Regions from separate parts of the Homo sapiens genome. Here all the other regions are linked to region 1. Evidence: promoter capture Hi-C in 16 types of primary human blood cells and fetal thymus (Javierre and others, 2016). All regions are on one chromosome and are shown on one strand. The core of a region is centred on a gene start or on the middle of the fragment in contact, and the rest is flanking DNA. Distances in the headings are between cores, read along the strand shown.

Region 1 (2,700 bases), core at 44-2,543:
CATATTAATTACTCTGGAAAGTTTTTGAACTCTGTTTAGTAGCAGATCTCCTTTCTTGATAGTTTCTTGGTACTGCCAGTTCTTGCTATCAGGTCTATAAATAAATTCAAGAAAAAATGAATTATTTACCAGTCACATTATTCCATGACAATAGTTGACCTACTTTTAAAATTTAGGAATGCCCCTTATTCTGAGAAATGAGAGTACCTGTTGGTTTCTACTATTTCATTCACTTTATCTATTTTGCAGTGTAGTCTCCCGGCAGCAATAAACCTGGACAGTTCCCTAATTTAGAGACAAAAAATAACAGAATTAGCTTTATAGAAAATTCTTAGAAAAATGCAAACGGCATTAAAATACTGTCTTAAATTTGTAACAAACATTTAGCTTCCCTTCAAGCTTGTTATTGCACATGCAGTAGTTGACGTTGTCCCTCCTATACTGCAGGCTTTAAGTCATCATCTACTAGAATAAACATGATCCTAGAAGTTCATATTCAGATAGATAGAAAGTAGATCAAACAATGAAACCATATGTACTCAGAGAAAAACTGTAGGTTAGGAAAAATTAGGGACCAAAACTGATAAAAACAGTAAACTGTTTCAAACAAAAGACCTAAAACAAAATTATGGAACACAGCCCATCAGTAAACATGTCAACAGCAATAGTATTAACATGTCAACAGCAATAGTATTTACTAAAACAACGACCCTTTCCCTCTCTAACATATCTTAGTCTAAACAAGTGGAAGGGAAGGGGAGAAATGATGTAGAATTATTGCTTTGCCCATTTTAAAAAAGGGGATTTCATCTAAAATGTAACTTTTTAAGGGAGAAAAAAAGAATAAAGAATCCATGACAACCCAGATTTGAAATTCTTAGGTATCACAGAAATTTAAAACAAGGCCTTTTTAGGTAACAACAACTAGAGCTCAGTGGTACAACCTTTGCCTCTCAAGCTGGTCTTAGAACATGAAGGGAAAAAAAAAAAACTGAACAAATACTACCTGAATTCAACTACTACCTGAAAGGTACCAGCTGCCTTGCATTCACTTGTCATCAAGATGACTTAAGGAATACTGCGGTGTGTGCCCCTAACTAATGAAGGCTTTATCTCCACATTACAGTTACGATACTGAAGAGACGTAACCTGACCAAGGCCACAGAGCTGGAAAAAGAAGCAAAGCCAAGCCGTTTTTCTCATGCACTGCTCACAACAAGCCCCTCCTTCCACTGACTCATGAAAAACACACTCATAATGCCCAGCCCGCACCCTAATGAACAGCCCTCTTAAGAGTGGTCATCAGACTTCAATTTCACAGACTAGAATTGAGAAATGGAACAAAACCTTGGGATACCAGCCTTCCATTTTGGTAGGGATCATTTAAAAAATGGTAGGGATCATTTAAAAAATGTGTTGGTGTCTGAAACTTACTTTGAAGTGGTTAAAAAACATAAAATGTATAGATTGTAACAAGCAAATATGTTAAAATGTACTGTACAATTCTTTCTTTACAATTTTATGGATGTTCGAAATTTAAAAAATACTAGAAAGAGAATGGTCTTATTTAAAAGAAATGCATCTTCATTTAAAGTTTCCACTGCAGACCATTGAAAACACCATCATCAACATTTAAAAACACCTACATGTGGGAGCCACTGATCTAGATGCCATCTGGACATCCCATATTGAGTATGTCTCCTACCCAACTCTACTCTCACCACCCTCGTCCACGCCACGGTAACATCTCCTCTAAGAGCTACTAAACAGCACAACTGGTCCTCTCTGCCACCTTACTCTATTTCTTATATAAAGACACTGCATAGGACCATGTAACTTGGGCTCTAAATCTTCCAATGGCTCCCTATCAAACTTACTTAAAACTCAAGCTCCATCCCATGACCTACAAGGCCCTACACAAATCATTACCTACCTAACTCTCCATATATTATCCTCAAAATCTCCTACCACTCCAACTATGCTGGAGCCACCCTGACATTTTCTGTTCCTACAACATCCAAGCTTATTCCTGGCTCAAAGCCTTAGCCTTTTCTATTCCCTTTTCTGCACGCAGAAGGACTCCATATGGCTGACTCCTCTCAATTCAAATCTCAGAGCAAACCTCACCTCCTTAAGCATGCCGTACGTAAGGATAGCATTTTCTCATCTCCATAGGTTCATTTCTATATGTGAAATTACGTTTTATATTTATTTGCTTCCTTGCCATCTCTTCCCTACTACTACAATGAAAGTGTGAAAAGGGAGCTGTAAAACAATACCAAACATATAGTAATGAATGGCTCATTAAGTATTTATTTGTTTAATCACTGATGCAAGTACTAAAAGTCCCACATTTAACAACCAATCTGACCAGAATTGCAGCAGCAACCTAAAAACTGGAAGGAATTATCAGAGGGAATATGACCAACTGTAAATATCAGATCTAAGAGTCATTACCGTAGCTGCAGTGTGGTCTACAAAGAAGTAACAGAAGACAACTTTTGATAACAACTGGTCTAATGACCTTTAACAAATCACTTAGCCTCACTACAACTCATCTTCCCATCTGTTAATGCAAGGGGCAGACATGACATGAGGAAGGCAGAGGCAACAGGATACGAATGTTTTGATAATACTGAGGAAAAAAACCTCTCCCCTCCCCGTTAAGATTGAGGGAACCAATGTAAACAAGTAAAAAAT
Region 2 (2,700 bases), core at 13-2,512, 660 kb before region 1:
TTGCTAAAGCTGTGTGTGTATGCCTGTGTATGTGTGTGTAGTGTGTGTGTGCGTGCATATGCACACATGCACTTTGCAGTGAAGAGAAGAGACACTGCACTATTATGCAAAACAGCCAAAGGGACTAGGCAAAAGTGTAAGTCAAATGCCTGCAGGGAACAGGCAAATAAAATGAGTGCATAAAGCAGGCTGGCTGTTAGAAAATCAGCAGTGTGCTAAATGGAAATGACACTTGCACTTGCTATGGACACCACAATCAGAAATATACATGTATGTGCAGGGGAGACAGACAAACATGCTGTAGCAAACTGGAGAACCCTTGTCCCTCCCAATTAATAGTTGGGCCAAATCATGTCTATAGCTTGAATTGGCCCCCGAGCCCATCAGTTAGTGACTTCTCGACCTCTGTTCAAGGTGCAGCTCCTTTATGGTTACTTATTCTAAATCCTTTCCTTGTTTTACCAATGAGGAATCTGACCCTCAGTTGGGTTCCATTTAGGTCATATCCTCACTCTCTTGACTGTGTGCCCCTTATCAGACATTATGCTTTCTTGCATTTTTTTTCTCTAGTTAGTCCTATTTACGTAGTAGACTGTCCTAAAGTGAACAGTTGTCCCTGATCTTCGTTGGTTTTACAGGAGGAAATGCACTGAACATCTCAGAAGCCAGAATTCTGAGTGATCCGCCCAATTGATCTTGGCCGATTTAACCCTCAGAACAGATAAGCACCATAAGTACTGCTCATTTATTTGTTGTTGTGTTGCTCTTTTCCTCTGCTTACTTCATCCAGTTTCAGGGGTAACAGGACATTTGACATTCCCTGCTTAATGTGTTTGACAGTTTGAGTTCAAGTTGCAATACTGCATACTTCCAGTAGAGGGTACGTGTGCTTTTCAAATCAAGTGTGAGTGCACCCTAGTAGGGAATCATTCTAGCTCGCTTTCCCGTTTCCAAGAAGCAAAGATTCTTGGTTCTTTGTTGCTTTAAGAAAATTTAGGCCAGGTTTTCCTTAGACAAGGAAATTGAAATTAAAACAGTAGCTCTTTTTAGTTTTTCAGGCAATAGAGATCAAATTTGGGAGCAGTGGGTGATAACACTGAGGAATGTTATCTGAGATGACAAATTCCTGAAGGTAAATGTGACATTTGGTTTTATTACTCTCAGACTGCTTTTATAGTAATAGCATATGTAGGATAACGTTCAAAGATTATCTAAGATTTATAGATTTCATTTACTGAATAATATTTGCTAAGAACCTGCCTGCTATGTCACAAGTAAAGTTCCAGGCAACGGGGATGGAGTGGTGACAAGATAAAGCCCATTCTTCCTGTCCTGGAACTTAAGAAGTTCTAAGTGGGGGAGAGATAAAAGAAGTAGTGAAAGAATGAATGATAATTGACTCAGATACTGAGAACTGCTAAAGAATGAATGATAATCGACTCATACAGTGAGAACTGCTAAGATGCTAGGATCGGCAGCATGGGTGCTGTGGGGCAATGTGGGATGGAAAATATGAAACCTGCTCTCTGGGGAGCCGACCTGAAGGAAAGGAAGAAGCCAGCCCTGTGAAGACCTTGGAGGGAGTGCCAGGCTGAGAGGACAGTAAGTCCAAAGGTCCTGGGGTGGAAACAGAGAGAATGCCAGTAAAGCTGGGGTGTGGTGTGCACTGAGGGGAGAGGGATAGGAAATGCGGCCAAAGAGGTGAGCAGGAGTTGATCATCAAGACTTGAAGGCTTGCAAGGAGCTGTTCTTTTTTTTTCCTGTACAATTTTAGAATTTTAATGTGGGAAGGATTCTTGAAAATCCTCTCACCCAGTTCTCGAAGTGAATAAAAGAATCTCCTGAGGAGCTTTTCAAACCGGCAGATTCGGCTGGAAAATCTGATTTAGAGGCCTATAGTGAGGACTGTGGATCAGTATCATAAAGCTCGATGGTTCAGATGCAAGTAGTCCACAGATCACCTCTTGGGAAAACACTTATTTATCTGTTAAGGTTCTATGTCTACAAGCAACAGAATTCAGTTCCAGCTAACTGATGTAAACAGAGAATTTGTTAAAAGGCAACTGGGAAGCAAATAGAAAAAAGGGGACATTGATGAACAAGACCCAAATATACTTCAGGCACCTAGGTTTGCAGAAACAATGGAGAATCCTTTATGTATTAGTCCATTTCATGCTGCTAATAAATAAATACCCGAGACTGGGTAATCTATAAAGGAAAGAGGTTTAATTGACTCACAGTTCCACATGGCTGAAGAGGCTTCACAATCACGGGGGAAGACAAAGGAAGAACAAAGGGATGTCTTGCATGGTGGCAGACAAGAAAGCATGTGTAGGGGAGCTCCCCTTTGTTAAACCATCATATCTCCTAAGACTTATTCACTATCATGAGAACAGCACCGGAAAGACCTGCCCCCATGATTCAATTACCTCCCACCGGGTCCCTCCCATGACATGTGGGAATTATGGGAGCCATAATTCAACATGAGATTTGAGTGGGGACAGAGCTAAACCATATCACTTTGTCTTTTTAACTTTATTTTAATTGACAAATAATAATTGTATATATTATGTAAAGATGGTGGAGAATCTTTACAAGACACTGCAATCTGGAGAGCAACTCCATTCCAGGTTCTTTGTCTCTCAGTACAGACTACTTGCTCATTCATTAACACAGAGTTGCTTGGCATCTGCCAAGTGC
Region 3 (2,700 bases), core at 114-2,613, 680 kb before region 1:
CCTACTCAATCTGTGGCTGGATCAAGTATTTTAAATGATGTAATTGGGGATCTACCTTTCTGTCTCCCCTCTTTTTTTTATTTATAGAAAGAGTCTCACCTCATGCAGCCACGGGTTCAAGTTTAAGTGATTCTTCCTGCTTGAGACCGCAGAAAGAGAGAGACTATTTCTCTCTCAGTGTGCATCTCAGTCCTTAAATAAAAGCTCTGACCAAAGTAGGGATAAAAAGAGGAGATGATAAACACTTATAAAATATTCTTATATACTGGTCACAATTTAATACTTTATAAGTTTTAATTCCTTTAATCTATGTATGAGCCCTATAAAAGAGGAATTATTATTATTGTTACTATTATTATTTCTGTTTTACAGATAAGAAAGTTGAGGTCCAGAGAGATTAAGTGACTTGTCCAAGGTTGTATAACTTGCAGTTGAAGAGCTAGCTATGGGAGTCTAGGAATGGAACAGATGCTCTTGATGATCCACCTCATTATAGAATCGTGTAATGAATAGCCCCATTAGATAAGGAAGAAAAGTTTCTACGATGAAACTGTCTGTTCAGACAAAAAAAATTAACAGTAAGAGAGACCTACTAATCTTATCCTCTAGACCTAGTTCACACTTGTACAGGTAACTGAACTCTGATTCTTCATCATCATTGTAAGGAAGGTATTGGCCTAGATGAGGGTCAGAAAATACACAGCACATATATCATTACCACCACTATGACCACACTGTGCCTAGGACAGACATCACTAATTGATCATTGCATTATGTGTCCCTTAAATCTAGATGAAGCCTCAGGATTCTTCCCAACACACTGATCCAGGCAACCTTAAAACTGAACAGAGTTTACAGGTGAAAATGAAACCTATTGCCGTTCTAGGATTAAAGGATCTCTCAACATACTTCTGGGACTATCATTTCAGAATTCTTCTAAGGCAGCCACAAATAAATGCCTTTTAGATAATAAAGCATAACCACAGGAGTTTATTAGATGCTCATGAGCAAGTGCAGTCTTTAGAATTCTTCAAGAATCCTCTTGTCTGTGTCCCAATTCATCCTGCTAAACCATTTGGTTTGTTCTGTTCCTTTTCCTCTAATAATAACAAAAGGAAGAGTAGTAATATACCATAACCCTCTCTTCTTAAATGCTCACGTATCTTTATACTAACGCTTTGAAGCTCATTCCACCAAGACCACTCTGAAAGGCCAGTAGTCTAGAAGGGGCTTGGGCTTAAATATAAGTCCATGCTAACACTTTTACTTGAGGAACTTAAAAAAATTATTTACAGGATGTGAACCTGCTATTAGCAGCCCAGTAGTAAGAACCTGCTGTTAGTACACTCTCCCACTTTCTTTATGAGGAAATTGAAACTGAGAGAGGTTCAGAAACTTTTCTAAAGTCACACAGAATTGGACCGTGGACCTCAGACTTCTCACAACAAATCAACAAATATCTACTGAGTTTTAATGTGCCAGGCTGTGTGCCAGGAGCTGAGGTTTGGAAGAGGCATAAGTTGATATGCCTCTTCTGGCATTTACTTTCTAGTAGGCTAGATGGGAAAAATTGAAAATGATGGGATTAAAAACAGTTGCTTTATGAATCCCAAAGTTGTCTTCGACTGGTAGGCAGTTCTTGAGGGGCAATGCTTCCATCTTTTCTGAGGCATGTTCCTTTCAAAACATGCTGAGCATATAGATCTGGAAAAAACATTTCAGAAGAAGACCTATAGTGTGGAGGATGCCTGAGTTTTATAATTGGACTTTATGAAGTCACATGCTCCTTTCTGCCTCAGAAACTTCAGGCTGTAGTTCCCTGGGCTTGGCTTTCTCTTCTTCACCCCTCTTTACTCCCTACCCTAGCTCACCCTGTGTGTTCAGATCCAACCTCCCTTGCACAGGAAAGTGTTCCCTGACTGTGCTCTGCCACCCTCCATCCTCAGGTTTGATCCCTTTACCCTTGCATGGCTTTGTACAGCTCACTTGTTTATACTTCGGAAGTAACTGATCAATTAATGACTGCGTCTCACATCAGAATGTAAGTTCCATGAGGGCCAAAATATATCTGCCCTATCTGCCCTTTCTCCTATTGCATCCTTAGACTTTAGGTCAGTACTTTGCACAGACTACTTACTCAGTATATTTATGGAAGAAAGGAAGGAGGGAAGAAAGGGAGAGAAGAGAGAAGGTATGGGTGGATGGGTTTTAACCTTAATAATAATGAAACATTTATTGAACACTTTTGATGTCTCAGGCTTCTTCGATCATTTGGTCTTAAGCACAACCCTGGAATATAGGTTCCATCATCCCTGTTTTATAAACAGTGAATTGAAGCCCAGAGTGGTTTAGTGACTTCCCCAAAGTCACCCAGCTATTTGGTGACGCATCAAGGATCTGAATTCAGTCTGTGTGACTGCAAGGTTCTTTTTAGTCTATATTATCCAAGAGCATGGTTAATCAATGTTGGCACAGTTGACATTTTGGGCTGCCTGGTCCCTTGGTTTGGAGGCTGCCCTGAGTTTGTGGGATGGCAGTGGCATCCCAGGCCTCTGCTCATAGATATCAGTAATACATCCCCCTGCCCCATCTCCGCCACCAGTTGGACAACCAAAAATGTCTCCAGATACTGTCTCCTAGGAGACAAAAATCATCACTGGCTGAGAACCACTGCCTTAGAATAATAAGTCATATCCTAAA
Region 4 (2,700 bases), core at 62-2,561, 640 kb before region 1:
CTATATGTTTAAAATGGACAAATACCATTTTGCCTTTTGTCTATAATTTGTGGGCATACCTGGAAATTCTAGGCCAGATGTGAAACTTCAAGATGGATCTCCTAGCACTTTTGGGGTTACAAACTCCCCAGCAAATTTGAGATTGTTGAGATATTATCCAGGCCCACTGGGGAAAGTAAGGAGTAATTTTATATTTTATAATACCAAGTAGAACTTTGAATTTATAAGTGAGAATCTTGTAAAAATTCAGAGTGTTGAGTTAGAGAAAGACTCCTACATAAATACAGTACATTCTGAAGTTTGGAAAATATCCTCTAAGCATCACTGTTGAATTATTTATTTATTTATTTATTTATTTATTTAATTTTAGATAAGATCTGGCTCTATCTCCCAGGCTGGAGTGCAGTCCTGCGATCTCGGGTTACTGCACCCTCCACCTCCCAGGCTCAAACCCTCCCAACTCAACTTCCAAAGTAGCTGACACTACAGGAACATGCACCATGCCCAGCTAATTTTTAGATTTTTGGTAGACATGGGGTTTTACCATGTTGCCCAGCCTCGTCTCAAACTTCTGAGCTCAGGTGATCTGCCTGCCTCGGCCTCCTAAAGTGAGTGCTAGGATTACAGGTGTGAGCTATTGCATCTGGCCTTGAATTATAATTTAAATAATTCATGAGCTAGTTACCAATTTTAATACTAATATTTCAACTAGGGAAACAGGCCCAGAGATGGTAAGTGACTTTCCTGGGAACATAAAGCTTTTAAGTAATAAAATAATAACTCACACCTACATGTTTCTTCCCATTTCCCCAGATCTGAAGTTTGGATTTTATTTTTAAGAGGGCAAGCACAATCACTGATGATTTTCTGCAGGAAGTGACAGTGATAATACTAGTAGTTAAAGGTTAGTATTGCCGTGATATTCTACAGAGATTGGGTGGTAAGGATCAAGTAAAATGGAAATTAGGGGCATAGGATCAGTTTAGAGGTTATTACAGCAATCTCAGTGTGATAAAAACTGATGTATTGAGAAACGAGACATTGATTTTGGCAGCAAGAAATTTTTAAAAAGTAGAGATGAGCCTGCATGATGTTTAGAAGGAGGATTTATAGAATTTAGTGACAGGCTATGGAGCATCAAAGAGAGAGGTGTTTGCCTGGACCAAGAGCAATTGCAAAGCTGAGAACTATGCACGTTTCATTCACAGATATCTGCCTTGGTTAGCACATTGTCTGCTTCCCAGCAGAGGTTCAGTAAATACTTGGATAATACATTAATGAGTGACCAGTGGTAATGCCAGGCTTTGAGCTGAGTGTCCTACAGGGAAGCAGAGAAAGAGTGCAAGAAAGGGCGCTAGTTTGAATGAAAGAGGAATGTGATGTTGCATATGCTGAGTTCCAGTTGAGAAAATTGAAGATGAAGAGCTTCAAGTTGGATGTAAAAGACCCAAGTTCTGAGGCAATTCAAGTCTGGAGATGTCACTGCAGGGTCACTTGTGAAAAAGGCGATGATTGAGTTACTTAAAGGGACAAGATTTTCTTAAGATTAATGGGGAAGGAACAGGCCAGACGAGTGAATCTGGACCTCAGAGAAGCAAAATTAGGAGAAGGAATAACAAAGAGTTCTGTGGAGTATAAAGCCATGGTCATTAAGGAAGGATCATATTTTCAATCAGAGGTGGCAGTGATGGTGTGCAGTGCTACAGACTGAACCAGGAAAGATAGAATGAAAAAAATGGCCTTTGATTTTGGCTGAAGAAGTTTATTGACAGTTTTGGAAAGAGGTATTTTATTTATACAGTGTTGCTTCAAGTCAGATTGTGAAGATTTGACAAGTGATTGTGTTGTTGATAGACATTCAAACAAAGCTTCAACAAGGACATTTCTTAGAGTTGAGAAGGACACCTTACATGAAGATGCTGTTGTTGTCAAGATAGGGAGAAATAAATCCTCTGTACTCATGGTCTGTGTTATGAGCTAAATCATGTGTCTGCAAAATTCACAATTTGATGTCTTAACCCCCAATATCTCAGAATGTCACTGTATTTAATGGTAAGGTCTTTAAAGAGGAGTTTAAGTTAAAATGAGGCCCTTAGAGTGGGAACTTAATCCAATATGACTGGTGTCCTTTTAGGAAGTGAAAGAGACACCAGGAACATGCATGCACAAAAGGCGGCCATGTGAAGAGGCAACAAGAGGGTGGCTGTCTGCAAGCTAAGGACAGGGACCTCAGGAGAATCCAACTCTGCTGACACTTTGATCCTGGACTCCAGCCTCCAGAACTCTGAGAAAATAAAGTTCTGTTGTCAAAATCATTTTGCCTTGGCAGCCTGAGCAAACTGATAGAGTCTGCAAAATGGAGGAGGGGGTTAAGTGTGGAAAGAGGAGCACCCAGTATAGGGAAAGTAGATCTCAGAGAATATATGTACCTGCAAAAACAACATAAAATCAATTGAAAAGTTAAAACAATTAAATGCTTATGGCCAAATAACATAAGCTATGTGATATTTCTTTATCTTTTACTTTTCTAAAACATTTTAATATTTGTGTTTTCCCACTGGATGCACCAATCCAATGCTTTAAAGTTTGGAACCTGGTGTTCAAGCTTCGTAAGATGGAATCAATTTTCCATTTTGCTGTCTTTGTGTTGTTGTCTCTTAACAAACCACTACCCACTGGTGTGAAGGCGAAGCAGAGAGG

What was found. Contacts are between HindIII fragments. The CHiCAGO score rates a contact against its expected background, and 5 or more counts as called.
Region 2: a contact is called between a fragment that was not itself captured here and the fragment with the promoter of PSMD6-AS1 in region 1, in 9 of 17 cell types (monocytes, M1 macrophages, M0 macrophages and 6 more). The highest score is 17.2, in monocytes.
Region 3: a fragment that was not itself captured here is called in contact with the fragment with the promoter of PSMD6-AS1 in region 1 in 2 of 17 cell types (monocytes and M1 macrophages); the score reaches 7.7 in monocytes.
Region 4: a contact is called between a fragment that was not itself captured here and the fragment with the promoter of PSMD6-AS1 in region 1, in 1 of 17 cell types (M2 macrophages). The highest score is 5.7, in M2 macrophages.

What each region holds. Positions count from the first base shown.
Region 1 is chr3:64,010,671-64,013,370 of GRCh38, forward strand. It overlaps PSMD6-AS1 (PSMD6 antisense RNA 1), which reads left to right and starts at 1,294. Exons shown (of 2, transcript NR_189168.1): 1 at 1,294-1,372. PSMD6 (proteasome 26S subunit, non-ATPase 6) reads right to left here. Exons shown (of 8, transcript NM_014814.3): 7 at 208-285; 8 at 1-94. PSMD6-AS2 (PSMD6 antisense RNA 2) reads left to right here. Exons shown (of 3, transcript NR_038286.1): 3 at 1,127-1,573. The HindIII fragment of the contact is 1,623 bases long and covers 398-2,020 here.
Region 2 is chr3:63,350,484-63,353,183 of GRCh38, forward strand. All of the region lies in intron 2 of SYNPR (synaptoporin), which reads left to right. Among named protein-coding and RNA genes, the nearest start is that of SYNPR, 74 kb to the left of the region's middle. The HindIII fragment of the contact is 4,284 bases long and covers 1-2,700 here.
Region 3 is chr3:63,330,381-63,333,080 of GRCh38, forward strand. The region is part of intron 2 of SYNPR (synaptoporin); the gene reads left to right. Among named protein-coding and RNA genes, the nearest start is that of SYNPR, 53 kb to the left of the region's middle. The HindIII fragment of the contact is 2,866 bases long and covers 1-2,700 here.
Region 4 is chr3:63,367,011-63,369,710 of GRCh38, forward strand. All of the region lies in intron 2 of SYNPR (synaptoporin), which reads left to right. Among named protein-coding and RNA genes, the nearest start is that of SYNPR, 90 kb to the left of the region's middle. The HindIII fragment of the contact is 1,110 bases long and covers 757-1,866 here.